Linked DNA regions of Homo sapiens: regions 2, 3, 4 and 5 are each linked to region 1. The links are contacts of gene promoters, found by promoter capture Hi-C in blood cells and fetal thymus (Javierre and others, 2016). All regions are on one chromosome and are shown on one strand. The core of a region is centred on a gene start or on the middle of the fragment in contact, and the rest is flanking DNA. Distances in the headings are between cores, read along the strand shown. Region 1 holds the start of RHOG (ras homolog family member G). Region 2 overlaps DCHS1 (dachsous cadherin-related 1). Region 3 holds the start of TAF10 (TATA-box binding protein associated factor 10). Region 4 overlaps APBB1 (amyloid beta precursor protein binding family B member 1). Region 5 overlaps FHIP1B (FHF complex subunit HOOK interacting protein 1B).

Region 1 (2,875 bases), core at 104-2,603:
CACACACACACACACACACACACAGGCTTTCCAGCTCTTTAATCCGTCTCTATCACTGGGAGGCTGCAGACTGCCTCTCCAAGCTAGGGAGGTTTGAAAAGACTCTAGAACTCACTAAGTCTTCAACAACTGATTCCAAAGCTGGAGATAAGTGGGTGGGAGGGAAGGATACAGAGAGGGTGACAGGCTGAGGGTTCAAAAGGAATGAGGGGTGATGGAAGAAACCAGGAGGTGCATGTGTGTGGGTGCCAGAGCTGGGAAGGGAAGGGATGGGGCAGGTTGCAGAGGACCAAGACGAACATGGGGCAGGGTAGGTGAAGACAGGTCAAGGCCTAGGTATGACCGTATGTTTGGAGGAAAAGAGACTGGAAGGGATGAGAAGAGAGTGATGGCGGATTTGTGGGTAGAAACTAAAGAAGGTGTGGAGGGAGACGACAGGAGCATGTGTATAATTCAGGGACTAAGAATGAAGAGGAACACTAGGAGATGGTTCTCAATTGTCCCCAAAAGACACAACAAAAACTTGTCAGGGACTATCAGTACCTCTGAATGAGAGTCCTTCCACTTCCAGTTACAGGGCAAGACCAAGTTACTCCCAAAAGAGCAAGGCCAGGCTCTGGTCAGCTAGGAACAGCGTCTGCTCACTAAATACCTACTGCTTGGCTCCAGGTAAGGTCGGGACTCAGGAAAACAGACATACAGACAACGACTGGGGTCGGCGGGGCTCCCCCACCCAACCCGGGTCCTCCTGAGTGCAGAGGGCCTTGGGGCTGCAGACCGAGTGTGGGTCTGTATTAGCATCCATCTGACAGGGAGAGAGCTTTCGGAGGCCCCAGACACCGCCCCTCTCACCCCAAGTGTCACAACTGCCAGAGCAGAGGGAGCGCCTTTTCCAGCCCAGAAGCCCTCTCCCCTCACGCACTTCTCAACACCCCCCCCACCAACTTCTGAGGACACCCCACCTGCGTCCGATCTCCCAGCTCTGAGCTCTTCCACTTCAGAGACACTTATCTTGGAGCCCGGGACCCTCCGACCTCAGGGGTCCCTCTCGGCTCCCTAGAGGCGGTACAGCCGCCGGGAAGCCACCCTCGCCGAGCCTCCGCCGGCTCGCAGTGGCCCCGTTCCCGCCCCGCCCGGCCGGCCGCGCCCGCCCTACTTGGACTGAACCGAGAAGCTCCCGCCCGCGGCCTCCGCCAGCAAACTCATGAGCCGGCGCCCGCGCCGAGTCCTGGGCCGGCCGGGCTCTCCTCCCCCGGACCCCTACCCGCCAGCCCCGGCCGGGCCTCACCTGGTGCCCTCCCCGAGGCGGGGGAGCTGGGGGCGGCGGCAGCGGCTCCGGGCTCGAGAAGGAAGTGAGAGCGGGAGGCCGGAGGAAGTGGGGGGGGCGGGCCGGCGAGGCGGGGCGGGCCGGGGCGGGGCCCGACCAGGAAGTCCGAGGGCCGATCTCCCCCTCTCCAGCCCCGGCCCGCCCCCAGCCTCGCCCCCGGCCCAGTCCCGGGCTTGCCACGTTCCCCTCCCAGTCCGCTGCCCCTGCGGTCAGTAAGTCAGGCCTCCCAAGGTCAAGTCTCTCCGCCTCCTCCTGGCCACCCTACCCCTGGAGGCCCTACCCTGGGCGCTAGGCGTTCGTCCTCTTCCCCCCATCCCGCCCCCACCAGCCTCCGCGGGAAGATGCTGAGAAAGGCGCCCCTGGGCCTGGTCCCTTCAGTCAACCCCAGGGATAGAGTGGTGGCCGAGGCTGGGGCAGTCCCCGCCCCTGCCCTGAGCCCCGGGGGAGTGCGAGGTGGTGGTGATTCAGCAGTGGGAAGGCCCCAGACCCCTGGGGAGGGTGGGGAGACTCGGGGGGAAGAGGAGCTGGCGTCAGCACCCAAGGGAAAGACAAGATCAGCAGAGGCGCAGGCGGAGCCGCGGGCCCCAAAAACAGGATGTCGAGTCGTCATTCAGCACCGTGCAGCCCTGCGAGGCCTGGCTCTGGGGAGGGGGCGGGGCGGACGGAGGACTTGGGGCTTCCCTCGCCCCCTCGCCCCCTGTTCTGCTGGGGCGCGCAGCTGCTTGGGGCTGAAGAGCCGCACCCAGGCCTGAGGTCCAGCTTGGGCCCCGGCGACCCGCGGGTGGGCGGGCTCATGGGCGCCCTCTGGTGCTTCGCTCCCTGGCTTTGCGCTCGGAGCTTTGACTTGAGAATCCATATCCTTCGTTCAGCACAAAGTTTCTGAGCGCCTACCACGTGGAGAGAGCTAAGTGCTAGGTGCTGTGAAGAAACACAGCGTTTAAGACAGGATCCCTGTCTTCCAGAAGCTTTTCAAATAAACGGATTGATTCCAGGAATAAATAGCTTAACCTTTCTGAGCCTCAAATCTGTCTTTGGTAAAATAGAATAATTATATTTCACCCCGTAGTTTTGAAGATAACATGAGAATGGGTGTAAAAGACCTGTTGTCAATGCGTATCTCAAACACTAAACAAATATCTTTTAAAAATATCATACCCTAAGAGTCTGGCGCGGTGGCGTCTGCCTGTAATTACAGAGATGGTGAAACCTTGTCTCTATAAACACAAACACACACATATTTTTTGACAGTCTCACGATGTCACCCAGGCTGGGGTGCAGTGGCACGATCTCGGCTCACTGCAATCTCTGCCTCCCAGGTTCATGCAGTTATCCTGCCTCAGTCTCTCGAGTAGCTGGGGTTACAGGTGCATGTCACCACACCCGGCTAATTTTCGTATTTCTAGTAGGGACGGGGTTTCACCCTGTTGGCCACGCTGGTCTCGAACTACTGATCTCAGTTGATCCACCTGCCTTGGCCTCCCAAAGTGCTGAGATTACAGGCGTCAGCCACCACACCCAGCCTACTTATATTTTTAAAAAAATAAATAG
Region 2 (2,875 bases), core at 253-2,752, 2.8 Mb after region 1:
CTTCTCTTTCTTCCTTTCCTTCTTTCTCTCTCACCATCCATATAAGAGGTGTGTTCTAGGCTCTGAGAGATAACAAGCTTCTTCTATCCAGTAGCTTAGAAAGAGAAAAAAATAACAAGGACACTGCAGCATACTAAGTGAGCAGAGAAGGGCTTGGAAGTTCCAGGTGGACCTCCTGGAGGAGGTGCCCTTTCACCAGGAGACACAGGGAAATGGAAGCCCCTCCCAAGTGGCAGTGGTTGAAAGTGGCCTGGTGTCAGAAGGTTACCTAGGGAAGATGGATACAGGAGCTGAAGGAAGGGGGGTCAGCAGGAAGCTGGGAAGAAGCTAGGAGACAATAGCATGAACCCCTGGGAGGGGCTTTTCCTAGCAGATACCAGGGCATCAGAGAAGAGAGAGTCCAGTCTTGCCTCTGTTACCACTGACAGGCAGGAGAGGGAAGAAGAAAAGAGTACAAGAATCAAGGAACCTAATATGGGGAGGACTGAGGCCAGGATGCCAGGAGTTGGAGGGCTCAGGGTGGGTGAGTCCGTGGGCTAAGAGGGCATTAAAGGAAGGAGCAGCCTAGGACACCTCTGGGGAAAGAATCTGGTGAGGCACTGTAATGCCTTGTAGTCTGGCACAGCTTCTGCTTCTTCCATCCCTTCCCAGAGCCCCAGTAGACACCTGGCTCAATGGATTTGGGTCTGCAAACTTCTGGTACTTCTTAAATATTTGCTAACTGAATGAAAGATAAAGTACAGATAAGGGAGAGGAAGAGGATCGAGGGAGACGAAGGAAGAATAAATTGTAGGTGAGGGGAGTGGAAGTGTCTCCAGCAGAGTAAGTGAGTAGTGTGAAAATTTCTTAATTATGTGGGCAGCTGAGACTAGGTGTCAGTCTTCTGAAGAGTGAACGAGGGTGAGGGATGTGCTGTGAGGTACCCATGTATTCATTCATTTTGTTCACAGCCAAGCACCTGTGTGGGACCCTGAGTCACAAAGATGAGTAATACGCACTCTTGCCATCAAGGAGGTCCCAGCGCGGTTTGGGGAGATAAGACAGGGAAGAGGCAATGACAACAACGAAACACAGAGTTCAAGCCTGCCCGGTGGAGTCATTAAAGGCAGGGTTTGAGACCAGATATGAGGAAGGGAAGGGATAAGCCAGGAGGGAAGGGAGTGAAGGGCCTTTCAGGCAGGCAGAGCAGTATGTGCAAAGGGTCAGAAGCATGGAAAAAGGTAGTGTCTTTGGTGAACTACAGGAAATTCAGTATGGCTGAAACTCAAAACGTGAGGGGGCTGGGGAAATGGGGCAGGTGATGAGACTGGGAGGCTTGGGGAGGTCAGACTATGATCTCATAACCTTTGTTAAAAAGAAAAGATTTTGTTCAAGGAAAATGGAAGGCATTTGAATAATGCTGAGCAGGGAGTGACATAGTTGGATTTGTACTTTAGGAAGGTGTCTGTTACTCCAATGAAAAGAATGGATTGAAAGAAGGAAGAGAAGTGTAGAAAGAAAAGTTAGGAGGCTCTTGCAAAAATTCATGTGAAAAGATGGTAGATGAGGGCAACAGCAGAGGTGATGGAGAAAAGGGGATGGGATATCAGAGATTGCTGGAGAGAAGATAGAACCAACACGTTCCAAGGGATTTCTGGATTATGGGATACGTGGAGAAGGGAATGGTGACAGTTAATTTCTGGGATTCCAGCTTGCAACCTGAGTGGGGATGGTCATTTGGGGAAGGAAGGAATGATGAGATCAGGTTTGCACATGATAAGGGGTCGGTGAGCTATACAGTAAAGAGCAGGCATGCAGCAGGTATGCAGAAATGTGGCCTAGAAGAGAGATGTCTGTGAGTCATCAGCCTATAGATGTTAATAAAAGCCTTGAAAAATGAATGAAATTGATTACCTAGAGGTGTGTATACAGTGAGACAATAAGAAGGTCCAAGCCAGAACTTTAAGGAACAGTGACATTCAGGGGGCATACAAAGGATCCCTCAAAGCAGACTGAGAGAACAGCTAGGAGGAGCTCCAGAAGAGATACATACCATAATGTAACTTTCCACTTATTTGCCTGTTAAATGTTGATAGAATAAAATCATGGCTCAGAAGCCAAACAACAAAAACAACTCAAGGAGAAAAGAATGGTCAATAATGTCAGCTCCTCCCGAGAGGTCAGGCAGTTAAGGACTTTTGAAAAGATCCTCCAGATTGAGCAGAAGAGATGTTACTTTCTCCTAGGGAAAGCAGTTACATTTGAGGGGCAGGCACAAATGGGAAGTGAGGAAGTAGGAACAGCTATATGCAGAAGACTCTTTCACAAAATGTGACAGTGAAGAAAAGTGAGGAAGCCTCTTAGTTAACGGGGTATTACAGGGTTAAAGAAAGATAGGAGAGGCTGGAGGATCTTTATGTCCTCCCAGGAGGAATGGGAGAAAGGAAGGAACTGGAGACGTGGGAAACACATGGAATAATCAGTTGAGTGAGGTCCCTGTGGAAGAGGAAGGGGATGGGATCCGTAACACAGGTAGAGGATTGGCCTTAAGTAGAAGAGACAGCACTTCGTTCTTATAGGAAGGAAGGAGAAAAGATTGAAGAGGATGCAGATAAAATTTGAGGGAGGAGGCAGAAATCTGAGGGAATTCAAAACAGATGGCCTCAATTTCCTCAGTGAGCCAGAAGACCAGGTTGTCCACTCTTAATTCCTTCCTTTCCTTCACCCCACCATGTCTGCTTTGTCACTGAGCCCTGCTGATCCCACTGCCTAAAGAGCTCTTGAAACCATCCACTTTCTCCTTCTCTCCGGCCACTACTCCAGTTCAGGCCAGTGTTATACCCTCCAGAGTTTCTGCAACAGCCAACTGTCCTTCTTCTCAGGCTCTTTCTCCAGT
Region 3 (2,875 bases), core at 153-2,652, 2.8 Mb after region 1:
GTCTCCCAACATGGGAGGGATCAGCCCCGCCTGTCACAATAAAGTTTATTATGAAAACAGGCTGGTGTGGGGACATGGGGACAGATAAGTACATTTAGGTTGGGTGGCTCAGGTGAAGTAGTGCGGCTTCTTCACATTGATGCCATACTCGCTGAGGGCAGGGGTCAAGTCCTCCATGGTTAGAGTGTACTTGCGGTCCTGAGGGAAGAGGGAAGAGCACCAACTGAGCACAGGAATCCCGGACTTCAATCCCAGATGGGTGACCCTGAGTAAGTCTTACACCTCCCCTACGATTCAGTTTCCCCAAAGGGGTGGCAGGATAAGCCTCCACTGTTGTGGAAGGTAATTACTGATTCATTAAGCCTCCCCTCACACCTTGCTCTTGCTCCGGGAGCTGCCGGAGGCCGTGCCCTTCATTTTGCAGTGCTGTAGGGCATCATTGGCAATATCTGAGATGAATTTCTGGGCAGCTAAGGAGATGAGCCGAATTCTAGAGAGAAAAAACTTAGATGAGAAGGAGATGGACAACATACTGCACAAGCACCCAAAACTAACCTGCCCTGGGTTTACTCACATGCGTGGGTCTGAGGCCTCAAAGCCAGCACGGTTCAGGTAGTAACCAGTCACTGCATCTGGGATCTGAGAAATCAATTAAGAGAACTGTCAGCAGAGCGGGAGGAGGGTGAGGGAAATGGATAGGCCTGATTATCAGGAAGCTCACAGTTTGGGTGAGCAGAGGGCAAACACAGAAGAGCGACTAGGGGAGCAAATGGAAGAGAACGCTGAAAAGCACGATGTGGCTGAAAGTTTTGACAGCAGGCTAGGTGGCCTTGTTCGGGCGGAAGCCCACCGTAGGCGTGTAATCTTCCAGCTGCATCAAGAAGTCCACCAAAGGCGTGCTGGACACCACGGGCTTCACGTCTCCGTTGGCCGCGCTCGGCAGTACGTAAACCCCGTTAGATATGGCCCCCTCCGGGGGCGCCGCGCCACCCGCCGACACCGGAGCTGGAGGAGAACCAGCAAAATGAGACACAGAGGTGGGAGGCGCAGGGCCCCAGCTAGGTCTGTCTATACCCTCTGCCCTCACCCGCCGCTGGACCCAGCCCAAGACGCTTCCCTCGCCCTCACCCGTCCCGGCCCTCACCCGCCCCACGCCGCTCAGCTGGCTCCCCGGCCCGCGCCGCCAAGGGTCCCGTGCCCCCAGCAGCTGCTCCAGCCCCAGGTCCCCCCGCTGTCCCCGCGGGGCTGGCCTTGTTCTCCGCGGCGGTGCTGGAGGGCAGCGCGGCGGGAGCCGAGACCGGGGGCGCGGGGCCCGGGGCCGAGGCGGCGGAGGCCGGCGCCGCCTCGGGGTCCGCGCCGGAGCCGCTGCAGCTCATCGGGCCGGTGGGAGAGGCGGCGAACAGAGCCGCTTCCGCTTCCGCTCGCGCCGCGCACACCCCGGGGTGACGTCACGCGCCCACGACTCGCCCCGCCTGTCTCTGTTAGTGCTCTCCAGCCCGCTCCCCGCCTCCTCCCATAGTGGATCTGCGGGTTAGAGGAAATAGGCTGCAGGGCGGAGACCGAGCCTTGGCGAACTGCGCTGCCGTAGCCATTCCGCCCTAGCCTCTGCCGTGCTCCGCGGCGATTCCGTCCAGACCGGAACCAGCGTGCGTCTGGCTCTCCTCCGCCGCTCTGGGACACCTCATTCTGTCTGACGCTCAAGACCTGGCTTCGACGTTTATGGCCCTATGTCCCTCGACTACGGGTTGCCTGCCTGTCTGCATCGTTTCAAGTTCCCTTATTCAGCCTTTTAAGGATTCATAGTGGATTTGGAAAGCCCCCTCTCTTCTCCGCCAGCTGCCCCGAGAGGTGGGGGCAGCAGTGGGGCGGCACACAGTGCTGCTGTAGGAGGAGGAGGAGTTTCAGCCTGAGTCAACAACATATGCAAAAATCACAACGAATGAGAGGCGTGAGGTTTTCGGTGTAGCAGACATTTAATTCTTATTTGCCAACTCCTGAGCTAGGACCTGGGAACACAAAGTTAAATAGGACACGATTCTAGTCCTCTAGGCACCAACGGTCTTGGAAAGGAAGGCAGACAAGTAAACTGGCCATTTCAATACTACGTGGTCGTTACAATGCTAGAGGTAGGCACAGGGGGCGCAGTGCAAGGGAGGAAGGGCGTTAACATCTGCCACCTACTTCCAGGTGCCAAGCACTGTTATCAACATTATTCCACTTTATTCCCTGGTGATTATGAAAGGCAGGTATTGATATTCACACTTAACAGACGAGGAAACAGCCTCAGGGAGATAAGCTTACTTGACCCAGTCTCTCTCCTAGTCCATATCAGAACCAAGATTCAAACAGGTTTTGTTTAGAAAATCTAGGATTTTTCAGCCATACCAAAATAAAGTAGCCTCAGGGAATCAAAACATTCACGAAAGAAGGTGACTTCTGAACTGAGTCTTGCAAGAATTCTGGAAATTAACCTGGCAGTTGTATCAGGGGTGGTAAGGGGACGGAACAGCTTGAGCAAGAGTGAGAGTTCCTTGGGGTTTGGGGAGGGAGGAGGAAAAATGATTTTTTACTTAAGAACAAATAGCAAGGAAGGTTTGTGAGCTATGATTGGGGGCTGGAGGGGAAAGCCTGAATTCTATCCAGTAATCCTTGAAGGGTTTTCATCCAAGTGGCCTGATGGGATTTGCATTTTACTCTGGAAGATGACTTGGGGATTGGCAGGAAGTAAGGACACTTTTTTTCAAGAGAATATAGCCCTAAACTAAGGTAGTAGCAGTGGGGATATAAGTGGATAAGTTCTAGATATACTTGGGAAATATAATTGGAAGGACTTGTGGACTGATAAAGATATATTTAAGATGTGCAGTCAGTAGGA
Region 4 (2,875 bases), core at 122-2,621, 2.6 Mb after region 1:
GAGATGTCAGATGAGACCCCAGCTAGTACAAAAAAGCACCTGAACTAAGACTACAAGGGCCCCCAACCTGGCTGTTGGGCTGGTTGATTTAAAAACTGAAGTGCCTCCAGCTCAGACACAGGGCTCTGTGCTGAGACTGGAAGAACTCCTAACTCAGGACCTGGGGAACTGCGCTGAGACCCCTCAGAGCACAACATTAGGGGCTGTCTGACAAATAAGAGGGCCCCAGACTCAGAATGGGTGTCAGTCTTGAACAAACCTTGATCCCTGGGTTGGTATTCCGTGGGGGAAGCTTCTCCTCCTCTTGGGGCAACGGCTCTGGGCTGAAGGCAGATGGTAATACTTGGCACAGGGCTCCCATAAATGGAGCTGTCCCAAGGCCCCTTCCAGACAGATCCATCCCACTGCCAGCTCACTGCATCTGGCAGCTCACCTGAGGCTCTGAGCTGGGAAGGTCAACGTCCCCTCCTCAGGTTCCTTCAGTCCCAGCTCCATTGGGGCCTCATCACTGGGTTCATCCTTGGGAAGGGGATTGAGGAATCAGTATCAAAATGATGCCCCTCCTCCAGCTATCCCGTGGTAAAGCAGGTCCCCTTACCCACCTTCCAAAATTCTCCATCCTCAAAGCCTTCTCCATGAGCAAAACCTGTCCAGGTGAGCTAGGAGGAGGGATGGGAGTAGTGAGTGAGTGTCCTATCCTACTCCAGCAGCACACACTCCCTCCACCCCTGGCCCAAAATCAACAGGCCTGTGAGCCTCACCTGGGACTCCTCTTGGGGGCTGCTCCCCTGTGAGGGGGAGGCCCGGCCGGGGGGTTCCCACTGGGTGGTCCCTGTTGGGATGTGCCAGTAATAGGTCCCTGAGGTGTCCTGGACCCTCATCCATCCAGCCGGCAGGTCGGAATCCGTCTCGAAGGCGTTGGGGTTCCAGAAGGAATCTGCCAGGTGGGAGGCTTGGTGAGGGTCAGCCTACCCAAAGAGCAGACAGCTGGTGCCTATGCCCGGTCCCCTCTGAGACCCCATGGTTGAGAAGGGGTGGTGGAAGAGCTATACCACAACACAGTTCCTGCTTCTGCCTAGAGCCTATAGTCTGGAGTCACCACATGTGGGGCCACCAGTAGGGGACATGGCTCAGGTCTCCTCCTGGGCCCTGTTGGTGGCTAATGTGGCCACACTGTGGAAAGGAGGAAGGCAGGGAGGGAAGAAGGAAGGGAGCAATGAATGTTGGGTGACCCCAATTAACCTCCTTTCATACATATCTATTATCTCAGTTAACACGAAGGTGAACACTTTCTAGCTCCTGCACACGTACATGTATACACAGACACACAACACATACAAGCCCTACCACACACCTGTGCAGCCACAAACACCAGGGTATGCAACACAGAAAATGCCAGCACAGATGGCAGGTATCACACACAGGTGCACATGTATGTGCAGGGGCACACACACACAAACTTTAGCCATACACTTATGCAGACACCACAGAGGTGTGTGTGCATGCAGCTAAACATACGAGCCCCTGCCACACAGGTGTGCAGATACCACACCACAATGGCCCCAACACACGTGTGGGTACCACACACACAGGCGGACCCACACTCAGACACACGGCACACGTCAAACCCTGCCAAATGTGTGCAGACACCACAGACGCTCACTTCCTGACCCTTGCTGCACACAGATGCAAGCAAACATGTCATGCACATACACACATACCTCGCATCTGTGTCATACACCCTTGTCTGCCGGCAGAGCCACACCACTCCAACCCTGTAACCCGCTCATGCGTCCTCTAACTCTTCTCTCCCTGTCAGCCCCACCCCACATGAGGCCCAACCTCATGCTGCCCCTCACCTGCGCTGCTGTCCTGCAGGATAATGGCCAGGAAAAAGTCCTGGGAGAACATGGCGCTCATTCCCGGCCCCTCCTGCCTCCACCCTCCCTCCTCACAGCCCCTCCAGCCCAGCCAGCTGGGCTCACAGCCTGGTGCTGGGCTGCAGAGAAAAGCTCATCCCGCCCCCTTCTCACCAGGGCAGAGCGTCTGCCAGGCAAGATCCTCCCCCGCTTGGAGCTTGCTAGGGAGGGGCCAGGACCACCATGCTAGGGAATCTCCTTGGGGGGTGGGGAAGGGAGGAGAAAGGGAGGTTCATGAGACCCCAGCCCCTTCTGCTCACACCTCTTCTTCCTCGCCCTGGCTCCCCTCCCCCAATCCTGAATCTCCATCCCACCCTCCAGTGGTTACCTCAGTGCCTAAGCCAAGCCCAGTCTTAGGGATACCAGGAGACTCAGCCCCTAAGGAATACCCCAGCTGCCTGGGGCCCTGCAGAGCCTATAGCTGTCAGCATAAATAGGGTGTGGTTTCAAGGCCTTCAGGGATCCCGCCCCTGTCCAGGACCTGCACAGCAGTTTGAACCCAAGGGTGGGCTTTGAGGTCCTGAGCCCCAGCAAGCTTGAGGCTGGGCTTGGGGCTTCCCAGCACCACCCCCCACCCCTCACCTGCCAGGGCCCAGCTAGGCTGCAGCGTCTCCTCGGCAACCGCAGCACCAGGACCGGCTGGGAGCGCCCAGACTGCTGACGTGCTTCCCGTTACCAGGGAAACCAGGAATCCTGACTGGTCCAAGAGGCAGTACTAAGGGACAGGCAGTCCCAAGACCCTGCTGCTGGGCAACCAGACACAGCAGGGCTGGGAGTGGGCGTGGTTACGCCAAGGTGGCTGCACACCTGACGAGAGTTATTCAGGCAGGGTGCTTCACCATCCTCAGCTTCCAAATGACGTGGGCCCACAGACACCCAAAGAGGAGGGGCTCTTGCCCATCCACCTTCTAGGCAGCCATCACCGCCTCTCCTCACCCCCACTTCCCCCTAACTCA
Region 5 (2,875 bases), core at 231-2,730, 2.4 Mb after region 1:
GAACCTTTGCCCTGGGAGAGGCAAAGAGGAGGGAGCTGGGGGAAGGGATATACCTGCAACACCTACATTGGACAGAGAGACCAAAATGATCTTCCAAGAACAGGTCAGTAAAATTCTGTGGTGTCTCTCTCCTTACAGTGGCTCTTCCTAGGCAAGAAGACTAATTACTGACATAAGGAGGATGAATGGGCTGTTACCCTAAATACTGGAAGTTGAATGACCTGATTAAAATCTCATAGAAATACAAAGGGAAAAACCAACCAACCAAAAACACCACCTACTAGGAATTTATACTAGAGCTCAGCTTACACATTTCTTCCCTGCTTTTCCATCCCTCAGACAAATGGGATGTCAGGGTATGGTCCCAACTCATTCCCTTCCCTCCCCGCAATATCACTTCTGCTTCTTGCAGGGATCTCCTCATCTGACTCCAGCGGGGTCCATCCAATTCACAAAAGTGAACCTCTATTCTACAGTGACTCCTCTTTACAGCAATGAATCCTCATGTCACACACAGTTATCTCTACCTTGACAGAGATGTCAAAAAGGAGGTGAAACTGAACTAGATCCTAAAGGATAAGGAAAGTTCACTGGGCAGAGAAGAAAAGGCATTCCTAGTAGAGGAAGCAGCTATTACAAAGATTTCAAGGCTCAAAAAAGCAGCATGGTTTTAGGGAACTGTGAACAATTTATTCAAACTAGAATACAGACTAGGGAGTGGCACACGAGACTGGAGAGGTAAGCTGAAGCTAAATGATGCCATATTAAGAAATTTGGATGTTGTCCTACAGGACACAAAGAGCCAAAAGTTTTTAAGCCAAGGAGTTCGGAGATCAGATGTGTATTTTCAGAAAAATCATTCTAGGGATGGACCAGAAAATAGCAAGTTTTAAGACAAAAAATTGTTTTAAAAAAATCATATGAGGTGAGGGGGAGCTAAACTAAAGCTTTGACAGTGAAGATGTAGCAATGGAGATATAGAGAAGAGAGATAACACAGAGCGAAATGTATTAAGATTCTAGCAAATGATTGAATGCAGGGAGTAAAAGAGCAGAAAGTATGAAAGATGACAATGTAGTCCTTGCCTGGAGTGAGATAGGGGATATGAGGGCAAAGTCGGGCTTTTGGGGCAAAGACTATGAATTCTGTTTTGGACATGTTAATTTTGAGATACTTGTGGAGATACACAGATCAATAAACATGTATACTTGGAATACAGGGAAAGATGACACTAGATACAAAGGAGTAATCAACTCATTATGATATATTTTCTTTTTTTTTTTTTTTTTTTTCTTGAGGTGGGGCCTCTGTCACCCAGGCTGAAGTGCAGTGGTGTGACCTCATCTCACTGCAACCTCTGCCTCCCAGGCTCAAGCAATCCTCCCACCTCAGCCTCCGGAGTAGCCAGGACCACAAGTATGTGCAACCACACCTGGCTAATTTTTGGTGGGTTTTTTTGGTGGTGGTTTTATTGTCGTTGTTGTTGTTGTTTTGGTAGAGGCAGGGTTTCAAAATGTTGCCCAGGTTGGTCTCAAACTCCTGAAGTCAAGCGATCTGCCTGCCTCAGCCTCCCAAAATGCTAGGCGTGAGCCACTACGCCCAGCCTATTATGATATATTTTCACATTTCACATTATCTCTCTAAATTGAAATTATGTTTTCATGTGTCTCTCTCTCCCTACTAGACTGAAAATCCCTTGAGAGCTCGGATGACCATGTTTTATTCATGTTGTTATCCCATAAAATGTGAGCATCACAAGCACAGACTATATGTTGAAGAAGTATTTGTTGAATGAATAAACGAATTCATTCTCCTAGCACTTAGTAGAGTGCCTGGCACAGAGCAGATATGGAATAAATGATTAACACAGTACCCTAAACATGTTTCTATCTCTACATCATCATCCTCATGTATGTTTCATCCTCTCAGAACTACCACTCACTATATGATACAAATCAAAATCCATTATACTTAATGCACTACTATTTCAACAGAGTTTGGGATAGCAAACAATAAGCTTACCAAATCCAGTGCTTTCTCCATTATAACAAGGATTTAGACAGTCCCTAAGAACCATCTAATATTTGATTTGATTCATCCTATCACTATCATGATATGATCCACTATCAAGATGTGATCCAGGTATTATATATACCTGTTCCAATGTCACTGCGACAGCATTAAACATAACCTTCATCCCTATGTCACTCTCACAGTCCCTTTTCTGTCTTTTGGAAATAGAACAATTACAAATCATTAAAAAATCCTCCCACATCACCTTCAGTGTCTATTATAAATCTTCTTTCCCAAAGTCTCTCTCACTCTGAGACAAAATTCTGGGTTCAGCCTTGCCACTGTATCCCTGTATGATCTCTGGCTACTGAATTTAATTTCTCATCTATAAAATGAAAGTTCCTGTCTTTGTCTACAAGGTATCTATATAAATCAGTATAATAAAATTTGAAATCCCTATGTAAAGCATGAATGCTGTTCAGATGTTAAGTTATACAGAATCATTGTATAAATGTATGCTTCCTCAACCTAATACAACAGCCACACCATCATCACTTTAAATTTCTGAAGTTCATAAAGCTATAGAAATAATTTTTAAAATTAAAAATTGGGTTGACACTTTTTATTTGGGTAAATTAGATCTTTTTTTTTTTAACCCACCATCTACTGTTACCATTACTGCATCAACGAAAGAGCACTGCAACACCAAAAGAATAGGAATGATAATCTCTGAGAATAAATTTATCTTCATGAATAACCATACTGTCTTTCTCTCCCTCCATCTTGGATAGATGATAATTTTATCATGTACAGGGTCCTTGGTCCAGTGTTTAGGAACCACTACTCTAAACTCTGAACTGTA

The links. Contacts are between HindIII fragments. The CHiCAGO score rates a contact against its expected background, and 5 or more counts as called.
Region 2: a fragment that was not itself captured here is called in contact with the fragment with the promoter of RHOG in region 1 in 1 of 17 cell types (M0 macrophages); the score reaches 8.0 in M0 macrophages.
Region 3: the fragment with the promoter of TAF10 here is called in contact with the fragment with the promoter of RHOG in region 1 in 1 of 17 cell types (activated CD4 T cells); the score reaches 5.5 in activated CD4 T cells.
Region 4: a contact is called between a fragment that was not itself captured here and the fragment with the promoter of RHOG in region 1, in 2 of 17 cell types (non-activated CD4 T cells and naive CD4 T cells). The highest score is 5.9, in non-activated CD4 T cells.
Region 5: a fragment that was not itself captured here is called in contact with the fragment with the promoter of RHOG in region 1 in 1 of 17 cell types (M0 macrophages); the score reaches 7.4 in M0 macrophages.

What each region holds. Positions count from the first base shown.
Region 1 is chr11:3,839,606-3,842,480 of GRCh38, forward strand. It overlaps RHOG (ras homolog family member G), which reads right to left and starts at 1,354. Exons shown (of 2, transcript NM_001665.4): 1 at 1,289-1,354. RefSeq lists silencers at 1,095-1,484, 1,535-1,584, 1,935-2,204, 2,245-2,294. The HindIII fragment of the contact is 3,094 bases long and covers 1-2,290 here.
Region 2 is chr11:6,650,116-6,652,990 of GRCh38, forward strand. The region is part of intron 1 of DCHS1 (dachsous cadherin-related 1); the gene reads right to left. Among named protein-coding and RNA genes, the nearest start is that of DCHS1, 4.3 kb to the right of the region's middle. The HindIII fragment of the contact is 2,855 bases long and covers 76-2,875 here.
Region 3 is chr11:6,610,814-6,613,688 of GRCh38, forward strand. TAF10 (TATA-box binding protein associated factor 10) reads right to left here and starts at 1,403. Exons shown (of 5, transcript NM_006284.4): 1 at 1,145-1,403; 2 at 851-1,005; 3 at 575-639; 4 at 376-490; 5 at 1-198. The coding sequence starts at 1,376. The coding sequence ends at 109. It overlaps TPP1 (tripeptidyl peptidase 1), which reads right to left. Exons shown (of 13, transcript NM_000391.4): 13 at 1,955-2,875. It overlaps ILK (integrin linked kinase), which reads left to right. Exons shown (of 13, transcript NM_004517.4): 13 at 1-57. RefSeq lists enhancers at 18-606, 607-1,194, 1,650-1,779, 1,830-1,879 and silencers at 1,050-1,249, 1,260-1,359. The HindIII fragment of the contact is 6,165 bases long and covers 1-2,294 here.
Region 4 is chr11:6,402,886-6,405,760 of GRCh38, forward strand. APBB1 (amyloid beta precursor protein binding family B member 1) reads right to left here. Exons shown (of 15, transcript NM_001164.5): 3 at 762-937; 4 at 603-659; 5 at 434-519; 6 at 260-323. Among named protein-coding and RNA genes, the nearest start is that of SMPD1, 14 kb to the left of the region's middle. RefSeq lists a silencer at 2,434-2,728. The HindIII fragment of the contact is 2,162 bases long and covers 291-2,452 here.
Region 5 is chr11:6,230,198-6,233,072 of GRCh38, forward strand. All of the region lies in intron 1 of FHIP1B (FHF complex subunit HOOK interacting protein 1B), which reads right to left. Among named protein-coding and RNA genes, the nearest start is that of FHIP1B, 3.0 kb to the right of the region's middle. The HindIII fragment of the contact is 1,070 bases long and covers 946-2,015 here.